Regions from separate parts of the Homo sapiens genome. Here region 1 is linked to region 2. Evidence: promoter capture Hi-C in 16 types of primary human blood cells and fetal thymus (Javierre and others, 2016). All regions are on one chromosome and are shown on one strand. The core of a region is centred on a gene start or on the middle of the fragment in contact, and the rest is flanking DNA. Distances in the headings are between cores, read along the strand shown.

Evidence for each region. Contacts are between HindIII fragments. The CHiCAGO score rates a contact against its expected background, and 5 or more counts as called.
Region 1: a fragment that was not itself captured here is called in contact with the fragment with the promoter of LOXHD1 in region 2 in 8 of 17 cell types (total CD8 T cells, neutrophils, total B cells and 5 more); the score reaches 10.3 in total CD8 T cells.

What each region holds. Positions count from the first base shown.
Region 1 is chr18:46,140,378-46,145,495 of GRCh38, forward strand. No RefSeq gene overlaps it. Among named protein-coding and RNA genes, the nearest start is that of ARK2N, 31 kb to the right of the region's middle. The HindIII fragment of the contact is 4,189 bases long and covers 770-4,958 here.
Region 2 is chr18:46,655,930-46,661,477 of GRCh38, forward strand. It overlaps LOXHD1 (lipoxygenase homology PLAT domains 1), which reads right to left and starts at 1,291. Exons shown (of 41, transcript NM_001384474.1): 1 at 975-1,291. The coding sequence starts at 1,104. LOC105372096 (a long non-coding RNA gene) reads right to left here. Exons shown (of 3, transcript XR_935430.4): 3 at 4,271-4,968. RefSeq lists enhancers at 1,539-2,488, 2,299-2,348. The HindIII fragment of the contact is 3,833 bases long and covers 1-3,734 here.

The sequences.
Region 1 (5,118 bases), core at 1,614-4,113, 510 kb before region 2:
CTTTCTTTCTCTCTCTCCTTCTCCTTCTCCTTTCCTTTCCTTCTCTCCTTCTCTTTCTTTCTCTCTCTCCTTCTCCTTCTCCTTCTGCTTCTCCTTCTCCTTTTCCTTTCCTTTGACGGGGTCTTGCACTGTCACGCAGGCTGCTGGAATGCAGTGGCACGATTATAGCTCACTGTAGCCTCAAACTCTTGAGGTTCAATCAATCCTCCTGCTTTAGCCTACTGAGTAGCTGGGACTACTGGCGTGCGCCACCACGCCCAGCTAATTTTTACATTTTTTTGTAGAGACAGGGTTTCACCATGTTGCCCAGGCTGCTCTTGAACTCCTGAGCTCAAGCGATCCTTCAGCCTCAGCTTTCCAAAAGTGTTGGGATTACAGGTGTGAGCCACCATGCCCGGTCATGTGTTAGTTTTCTATTGCTATGTGAAAATATTACTACAAACTTAGCATTTTAAAACAAAACACATTTATTATCTCAGCTTCTCTGGGTCAGCCATCTGGACATGGCTTAACTGGGTCCTCTACAAGGCTGCAAATAAAGAGTTGGCCAGGACTCCAGGCGTGGTGGCTCATGCCTGTAATCCCAGCACTTTGGGAGGCCGAGGTGGGTGGATCACAAGGTCAGGAGTTCGAGACTATCCTGCCTAACACGGTGAAACCCCGTCTCTACTAAAAATACAAAAAAATTAGCCGGGCATGGTGGCGGGCGCCTCTAGTCGAAGCTACTCGGAAGGCTGAGGCAGGAGAATGGCATGAACCTGGGAGGCGAAGCTTGCAGTGAGCCGAGATGGCGCCACTGCACTCCAGCCTGGGTGACAGAGCGAGACTCCATCTCAAAAAAAAAAAAAAAAAAGGGTTGGCCAGGACTTCATTCTCACCTAAGGCTTGACTAAAAATGAATGTGCTTCCAAACTTATTCCGTTTGTTGGTAGGATGCTGGTCCTTGAGTCTGTAGGACTGAGAGCTTCTGTTTTTTGCTAGCTATCAGCTGAGGCCAACCTCAGTTCCTCATCGTACCCACAGGTCCTTGCCAAGTGACAGTCCCCAACATGGCTCCTTGTTCCTCAAAGTCAGCAAAGGAGGAGAGACTCCAGTAAGACAAGTGTTATGATCCTCTGTAACACAATCATGTAATCTTGTAATTCACGTAGTCACATGCACATAATCACATACATCTTGTCACCTTTACCTTTTTTTTTTTTAAAAGAGATTTGAGAGACAGGGTCTCATTCTGTCATCCAGGCCTGAGTGCAGTAGCACAATCATAGCACCTCACTCTCCCAAGTAGCTGGAATTACAGGCAAGCACCACCATGCCCAGCTAATTAAAAAATAATTTTTTTTAATAGAGACAAGGTATCACTGTGTTGCCCAGGCTGGTCTTGAGCTATTGAGCTCAGAACAGGCTTGGTGGCTCACGCCTGTAATCCCAGCACTTTGGGAGGCCGAGATGGGTGGATCACTTGAGGTCAGGAGTTTAAGACCAGCGACCAGCCTGGCCAACATGGTGAAACCCTGCCTCTACTAAAAATACGAAGACTCGCCAAGCATGGTGGCGCGTACCTGTAATACCAGCTACTCAAGAGGCTGAGGCAGGAGAATCACTTGAACCTAGGAGGCGGAGGTTGCAGTGAGCTGAGATTGTACCACTACACTCCAGCCTGGGCAACAGAGTGAGACTCCGTCTCAAAAAATAAAAACTAAAAACATAACTACTAAGCTGAAGCGATTCTCCTGCCTTGGCCTCCCAAAGTGCTAGGATTACAGGCGTGAGCCACTGCAACCAGCCTAATTTTTTTTTTTTTTTTTTTTTTTTTTGTAGACACGCAGTCTTACTATGTTGCCCAGGTTGGTCTCAAACTCCTGGCCTCAAGTAATCCACCCACCAAAGTGCTAGGATCACAGATATTGAGCCACCACAAGTGGCCTGCCTTATTCTATTGGTTAGAAGCAGGCCACAGGCCCTGTCTCCACACAAGAGGGAAAAATCACACAAAGGCATGAACACCAGGAGGCAAGGCTCGTGGGGACCACTCTGAGTCTGTCCACTACATAAAATTTCTGCCAAGAAATCATCTGTCCACCAAACTAACATTGTTTATTTTTAAGTAAGTGTATTTTTTTCTGTGTTTTTGTTGTTGTTGTTATTCATGTTGTTTTGAGACAGAGTCTCACTTTATTGCCCAGGCTGGAGTACAGTGGCATGATCTCGGCTCACTGCAACTTCTGCCGCCCGGTTCAACTGATTCTCCTGCCTCAGCCTCCTGAGTAGCTGGGATTATAGGTGCCTGCCACCGTGCCTGGCTAATTTTTGTATTTTTAGTAGAGACGGGATTTCACCATCTTGGCCAGGCTGGTCTGGAACTCCTGACCTCAGGTGATCCACCCGCCTTGGCCTCCCAAAGTGCTGGGATTACAGGTGTGAGCCACTGTGCCTGGCCATTCTGTGGTCATTTTTAAGATTGTCTCTCTCTCTTTGGTTTTCAGCAATCCTATGACATGCTAGGTGAATTTTTCTTTTTTAACCTCTCCTAATTAGGGTTCATAGAACTCCTTGTATTAATAGCTTGACTTATTTCATCTCTTTGGAAAAAAATCAGCATTATCTCTTTAAGTATTGCCTCTGCTCCATTCTTTTCCTCCTTGTTTCTCATACCTCCAATGACCTAGATGTTAGACTTTCTCACTGTCTTCAGTAGATATTTTGCACTCTTTTCTCTATTTTCCACCCTCTTTTTCTCTCCTCTTTTTCCCCATTGTCTTTTCCTCCTTCAGTCTGGATGTTTCTTTTTTTTTTTCTTTTTTTTTTGAGGTGATCTCGCTCTGTCGCCCAGGCTGGAGTGCAGTGGCGCAATCTCGGCTCACTGCAATCTCTGCCTCCCGGGTTCACGCCATTCTCCTGCTTCAGTCTCCCGAGTACCTGGGACTACAGGCACCCACCATGGCGCCCGGCTAATTTTTTTTTTTTGTATTTTTAGTAGAGACGGGGTTTCACCGTGTTAGCCAGGATGGTCTTGATCTCCTGACCTCGTGATCCGCCCGCCTCAGCCTCCCAAAGGGCTGGGATTACAGGCGTGAGCCACCACGCCCGGCTGGATGTTTCTTTTTATTATTTTTTTAACTTTTTATAGAGATGGGGTCCCACTATGTTGGACAGACTGGTCTTGAATTCCTGGGCTCAAGTGATCCTGCTGCCTCAGCCTCCCAAAGTGCTGGGATTACAGGCATGAGCCACTGTGCCCAGCTTGTCAACCAGTTTTTGTTCAGCTTTTCAGCATGCCTATCCTACACCATTTATGAATCAGCACATTCCTCAAGGGCAAAGAGAGGCTTCATTCAAGAAGTTTCTCTTCCCTCTGAACATTAGCCCCTCAAGTACTGGCTGCTTGGGCAGCTCTCTCATACCTTTAAACAATTTTTTTTTTTTTTTTGAGACGGAGTCTTGCTCTGTTGCCAGGCTGGAGTGCAGTGGCGCGATCTCGGCTCACTGCAACCTCTGCCTCCCCTCCCAGGTTCAGGTGATCCTCCTGCCTCAACCTCCCAAGTAGCTGTGACTACAGGTGTGTGCCACCATGCCCAGCTAATTTTTGTGTATTTAGTAGAGACAGAGTTTCACCATGTTGGCCAGGATGGTCTTGATCTCCTGACCTTGTGATCTGCCTGCCTTGGCCTCCCAAAGTGCTAAGATTACAGGCATGAGCCACCACACTGGGCCCAAACAATTTTTTACTTTGCATTTTTTCAGCTTTCCTAGTTGTTCTCTGCAAAAGGATTCATCTACTCACATAGGCCTACATTTTTACTTAATATAGATTTCGCCATACTTTCCCACCAGGTCTGAAGTTAACCACTACAGTTCACATTTTCTGTTTGTTTATTTTGTTTTGTTTTTAGAGACAGGATTTTTCTCTGTTACAGAGGCTGGAGTGCAGTGTCACCATCATAGCTCAAGCAATACTCCTCTCTCAGTCTCTAGAGTAGCTGGGATGACAGACGTGCACCACCATGCCTGGCTAATTTTTTTTGTAGAGATGGGGTCTCTCTATGTTGCCTGGGCTTGTCTCAAACTCCTGGCTTCCAGCAATCTTCCCACCCCGGCCTCCCAAAGTGTTGGGATTACAGGCATGAGCCACTGTGCCTGGCCACATTCCTTTTATAGGAAGCTAATATTATATCACACCCCTTTGTTATGAAGAATAGTCCAAGAAAAAAAAAACTATCTATCTATCTATCTATCTATCTATCTATCTATCTATCTATCTGTCTATCAATCATCTATCTATCTCACAACCCTGATATTGTAACTGGCAAAAGGGTCTGGCTGCTCACCGTGTGTAAAAAGAAGCCAAAATAATAACAAGATGTGATAAAAAAAAAGAGAGCGAGACTTTATTATCCATGCCAGTAAGGGAAAGAATGAAAAAAATTCTACTTTTGAATTTGTAGAGGGAATGCAGGGGGTTTTAAAGAGAGGATTTGGGCCAGGTGTGGTTGCTCACGCCTACAATCCCAGCAATATGGGAGGCATAGGCAGGCAGATCACTAGAGCTCAGAAGTTCAAGATCAGCCTGGGCAACATGGCAAAACTACATCTCTACAAAAAATACAAAAATTAGCTAGGTATGGTGGCACACACCTGTATTCTCAGCTACTTGGGAGGCTGAGGTGGGAGGATCACTTGAGCCCAGGAGGTAGAGGCTGCACTGAGTGGTGATGGTGCCACTGCACTCCAGCCTGGGTGACAGAGTGAGACCCTGTCACACACACACACACACACACACACACACACACACACACACACACAGAGGGTTTGGAATGCAGAAGAGGAAGGGGAGCTAGCAGGTGTCAGGTGGCGTGACCTCCTCCAACAGCTTGTCTTGAATTATTGTTCCATCCGGTGAGGGGGTTGGCGACTTCGTGGCTCGAGGTGTCTGGTCCATATCAGGATCCAGCCCCTGAAGCTTCTAAGGAAATATATGACCAGATAAGTGAGTATGGTATGTGCTTAACATGCATCTAAGTAAATATGTATATGTAAGGCTTGGGAACATAGAATAGGAAAAGAAAAGGATTGGAGGTTCACAGCACATTCCGAAGCTGTATTTGAAGATGAAAGGAA
Region 2 (5,548 bases), core at 41-2,540:
GAACTGGGCTTTCAGAGTGAGGACAGGAAGAGGGAGAAAGGGGAAGACAAACAAGGCCATGGGCAGGCACAGAGCACACATTCAATAAATACTTGCTGAATGAATGAATGAGTGAATGCATGGATGACTATGGCGCTTACGGGGACTGGTGAGCCACTTTGGAGTCAGCATTGAGAATTTAAATGGCTTCAGAGACTAGGCAGGCAGCACTGATGAGTAAACCAGACCTAGTATGAGATGACAGGGAGTGGTGGAGACTGTGATAAGCTGGACGTCCACAGCCTATTGGCATTCACAGAAAAAAGGATTTCAAAACGCTGGAAAGGAAAAAAACAACTTAAACTCTGCTGGCCAAAACCAGCTCTAGGGTCACAGTTCACTTCTTTGGTTTACCTGGCAAGGAGTTAGAGCAATTTCAAGCAGGTCTCATGTGGCCCAGGGAAAGATGAGACTAGAAGGACAAGGCCCTGGGGTCCAGAGCACCGGCCGCCTTCGACATATGGGATGGACATCTCCTTGCAAAGCCCCAGGCTCCCTGTCTCCATCAACCACAGTGGGCATAGGATGAGCTGTCAGGCTTCCTCCCCAAGACATCCTTTCATGACCCCAGCAGTTCAGGGCGCTCTGCCTGATGCAGACCACCTACTCGGGGACCAGACTGGAACGTGGCTTTGGGGATGTTCAGGAGCTGGAGAACATGGGGCCATGGGGGCACTGTGGCTCTAGTCTATTCTGTTCCACTGAGAATCGGGGGCTAAAGGCAAGTTGCTCCACCTGTCTGTACAACAGGGACCCCACCATCCCTGCATAATGCCTGCCTTCTTACTCCGAGGGGATATGGAACAGACACATGGGATAATCAGTGAGGAAGGGCTTGCTCCGAAATCTTAGAATGACTCCCCATAGACAGGAACAGACCCCTGCCCACCGCAGCCAGCTGCACCACCCGCCCCCCGCAGGCTGGGACCCCGCACCTCTGGCCTTGTAGTACTCGTGTTCCAGCTCCCCCTCGTCGTCCTCCGAGGCGTAGTTCAGCAGCTCCGCTTCGTACAGGGCCAGGAAGTCGATGTCCTTCTTCCTCCGCCTTTTCTTCTGGGGCATCATTCTGTCGGCTGCCTTCTCCCAGCGCTCGCAGGCTCACTGTGCCGCCTCCTCACACCTGCGGGAACCTGAGACCTCCTCCCTGAGCTCTGGCGCCCACGGCCCTCCTATAGCTCAGGCCTGGGTGGGCCAGAGTGCCCCGTTTTCTTGGCTTCCCCGTGCCCAAGGTGCTGTTCCCTCTGCCTTCTCTGGCTCCTGAGCTGAACCTCAGTGCCTTATCTCTGAACCTCCTGTCCCTGTCCCCTCCCACCACCCTCTGGTGAGCCACCTCCTCCTCCTCTGTACCTGCCCCGGGGCTTCTCTTTGGGCCTCATCACTTATTCATGGCGCTGAGGGCAGGCTGACTTCCTTCCTCTCTCCCCTCCCCACCAGCCCTCTCTCCTCCCTATGGAGAATCAGGTGACACGGAGCCCTTGAAGTCCATTTCCCACCTGGCCTCACAGCCAGGGGGTCACCTGGGATCCCTCCAGGCCACCCCAGGGACAGGTGAGGGCTCCTCACCCAGGAGATCTCCCAAGCCTTACAGCCCACACGGGACCCTCCTGAGGAAGGCGGGGCCCCGGAATCAGCCAGGCTCCCAGGACTCAAAGGCCCCCGTTTCTCTCCATTATTCATGACCTCTGATCGTCTTACGGAGCAGGCGGGGTTCTCGCTGGATCCTTCTCGTTCTCTCTCTCTGCTTCCATCTCATCAAGACTGCGGGCTTCCGGAAGTGGCCTCTGGGCACGAGGAAAGCTAGGGCACCAGAAAACTCTCCCCGCTCCCCCTGCCAGGTGAGCTTTATATGCACTAAAGTTTAAACATCATCGTAGCCGATGCCCTCCCAGGTGAACTCACTAACTAGATCAGCTCACCACCTGGACTCACGGGAGGGCATCAGCAAGCTCCTACCCCAGGGCGCACAGCCCGGGCTGCACACCAGAAGCCCCCAGAGAGGTGTTGAACGCTAATGCGTGGGTCCCATCCCCAAGGATTCTGATTTGCTTGGTTTGGGACGCAGCTTGGGCCCCAGTTTTTAAAGCTCCTGGTGACTTTCATGTGCAGCCATGTTGAGGGTCCCTGAATCGCTTCTCAGGTAACTTAGGTGTGCTAACAGGAGTCCTCTAGAAGCAACACGTGTGATTTTGTCCTCTAAGCCAAAATAGTGACTCTAAAGGGGAATTTCAGGTGGAGAGGAAGAGAGGATTTGGAGCGGACGCCTGAGGAGCAGTCGGCACTCACAGGCCTCCCCGGCAGCCTGGGGCAGCTTTGGTCCTGCCCTGCTCTTTGGAGCCATCCAAATCTTCCACTAGGGGGAGGCATCTCTAACCCCGAACGTTCCTACCCAGGAAAGATCAACCTCCCCTCTTCCCCTATTCAGCTGAGGGGCCGCCCTTGAAGCAGCTCAAAGTCCTCTGAGGACCAGGAGTGAAGTTTAATGGTGGGTGGCGCGCGCCCCCTTCTGGCAATATGTGGTTTACACACCTGGATTCTTCAGGAAGAGACCTTCCTTAAGGATCTCTAGGAATCTACTAAGAAAACTCATTTTACACGAGTACCCATTCAGGGAAAAGATAATAAAACGTTTCTTAGAATTTTTTTTGAGACGGAGTCTCCCTCTGTCGCCCAGGCTGGAGTGCAGTGGTGTGATCTCGGCTCACTGCAACCTCCGCCTCCCGGGTTCAAGTGATTCTCCTGCCTCAGCCTCCCGAGTAGCTGGGATTACAGGCATACGCCACCATGCCCAGCTAATTTTTGTATTTTTAGTAGAGACAGGGTTTCACCATGTTAGTCAGGCTGGTCTCGAACTCCTGACCTCGAGATCTGCCCACCTCGGTCTCACAAAGTGCTGGGATTACAGGCGTGAGCCACCGCGCCCGGCTGTTTCTTAGAACTTTAAAAGCTGAAATCAAAATATTTTTAGAGAATCCCATGGTACTGGAACACACTGGCTAGGAGGTCAGGGAAATAATTCTATATTATTTCTGTATTATTTCAAGGTTCTCCAGACAGACAGAACCACTAGGATATACAGATCAGTAGATATATGACAGGAGGCTTACTAGGGGCGTTGACTCATGGGATTATGGATGCCGAGAAGTCCCACAACAGGCAGTCTGCACGTTGGAGACGTAGGAAGGCTGGTAGTGTGGTGGGTCCAAGTCTGAAGGCCTGGGAACCTGGGAAACCCGTGGTGTAATTCTCAGTCTCAGGCCCAAAACCTGAGAACCTGGTGGTGAGCGGGTGATGGAGCAAGTCCCAGAGTCCAAAGACTGGAGAACCTAGAGTTCTGATGCCCAAGGACAGGAGAAGAAGGGTGTCCCAGCTCCAGGAGAGAGATAAAACATTCACCTTTCCTTTGCCTCTTTGTTCTGTCGGGGCCCCCAGCCGATTGCATGGTGCCCACCCACATTGAGGGCACAACCAGTCATGTTGACACCAAAAATTAACCCTCACAAATACCAAGAGTTCATAGGGACATGAGCAGCCAGAACTCTCATACTGCTAGTTGGAGTGTAAAATGGTGCAGCCACTTTGGAAAATAAAGCAAAGCAAATACTTCCCATGCAACCCAGAAATTCCACTCCTTGGTATTTACCTAAGATAAATGAAAAAGGATATCCACACAAGATCTGTATGTAAATATTCATAGAAGCTTTATTCATAACCAAAAACTGGACACAACTCAGGCATTCATCACCTGGCCAGTGGGTAAACAAACTGAGGTACATCTGTACAGGCAATAATACTCAACAATAGAAAGGAAGGGAGTCGGGAAACATGCTACAACATGGATGCCTCTGGAAAGCACTACGCTAAGTGCAGAAAAGCGGTCAGAAAAAATACATGCTGTGTGATTACATTGATGTAACATTCTCTAAAAGGTAAAACTATAGGATCAGAAAACAGGCCTGATGGGTGCAGTGGCTCACACCTGTGATCTCAGCACTTTGGAAAGCCAAGATAGGAGGATCGCTTGAGCCCAGGAGTTTGGGACTAGCAGTAACATAGGGAGATCCAGTCTCTACAAAAAATTTAAAACCTGGTGGCACAGACCTGTAGTCCCAGCTACTCAAGAGGCTGAGGCTGGAGGATCACTCGAGCCTGGGAGGTGGAGATTGCAATAAGCTGTAGTAAGCTGTGATTGTGCCATTGCACTCCAGCCTGGGCAACAGAGCAAAACCCTGTCTGAGAAAAAAAAAAAAAAAGAAGCCTATGGTTGCCAAGGGCTGGACTAGTGGGAGGGAATGGTCTGCAAGGAAGCATGAAGAGGCATTGCTTGGTCTCAGGAGCAGGACATGGGCTCCACCCTGTCTCTCTGAAGTGGCCTTATCTGCTGCCTTTCCATCTCCATGTGATGGCCTGTCTGGGTCACGCCTATGGTGCAGGCCTGGCTATTGACTCAACTCCCACCCCAGCTCCTTGGTGTGAGGATCCTGCACATAGCTGGCTGTGAACGGGTGCTCAGGGCATGCTTTGCAGACCCACTTCTCATCCCAGTGCAAGGTCTAGATTTGTGGAGAGGTAGGAGGAGGCCTCAGTAGGCATAGCACAAGGCCCTGAACTGTGCAGTGGTGGTGAGGAGTCCTAATTGATAAAGCTAAGATGTAGAGTCCCATCGGTTTCTTGTGTACTGATAAAAGCACAAAGGACAGACAGGGTGATTACTTGGGTGGGACCCCAAGCCTATGATAATAGGGAGAGGTTGTTCATCCAATGACCATTTGCATGTGCACAGACATGTCCAAATGTGCAAAATGATATCGTTGTGCCCGTCTCCTCCTTAGAGTACATTCTCTTGCTGCTGGATGGCGTTGGTCATATTCCTCTCCAGCTCAAAAACATTTGCTTACGCCCCACGGCAATTGAATTTTCTCAGCCAGAGTTCTGGATTAAAAGCAACAGAAACCAACAATGGCTAGTTTAAGTAGAAAAATTATTTTTTTAAGCTGATGGAAGGTGGATCTCAGAATGTCCCAGAGATCTACACTCTGGAAATGATGCCTAGAATCATGCTGGTCCAGAGAGGACCCGACTTCCACCAATGCTGGGCCTGGATGTACAGCGTGCACCACAAGCTTCAGCACTGGCTGTTGCTGCTAGAGCCACAGCAGCTGCCTGTTTGTGCCGCCCTCACCAGAATGGACTCTGCTGCCTTCTGCCATTCAGTCTGGGGCCGGAGCATCTGATTGGCTGAGCCTAAGTCATGTGCCCACAGCCTTGCTGGAAAGGAGGCTGGGAAAGAGAGTATTTGGCCTTTCCAACTGCTATGCTGGGAACTGTGCTCTTCTCAAACTTTAGAAGGGGATTCAGATGCTGGATTACCAAGATAACAAATGTCTATGAAACTAATAGAATTCTAGCTCCTCAAGCTGATAGCAGAGACCCTCTATAATCTGACCAACCTTCTCCTTATGAAACCCACACTGTGGATAAACAGAAGAAACCCCTGTTTTCTAAACGGGCC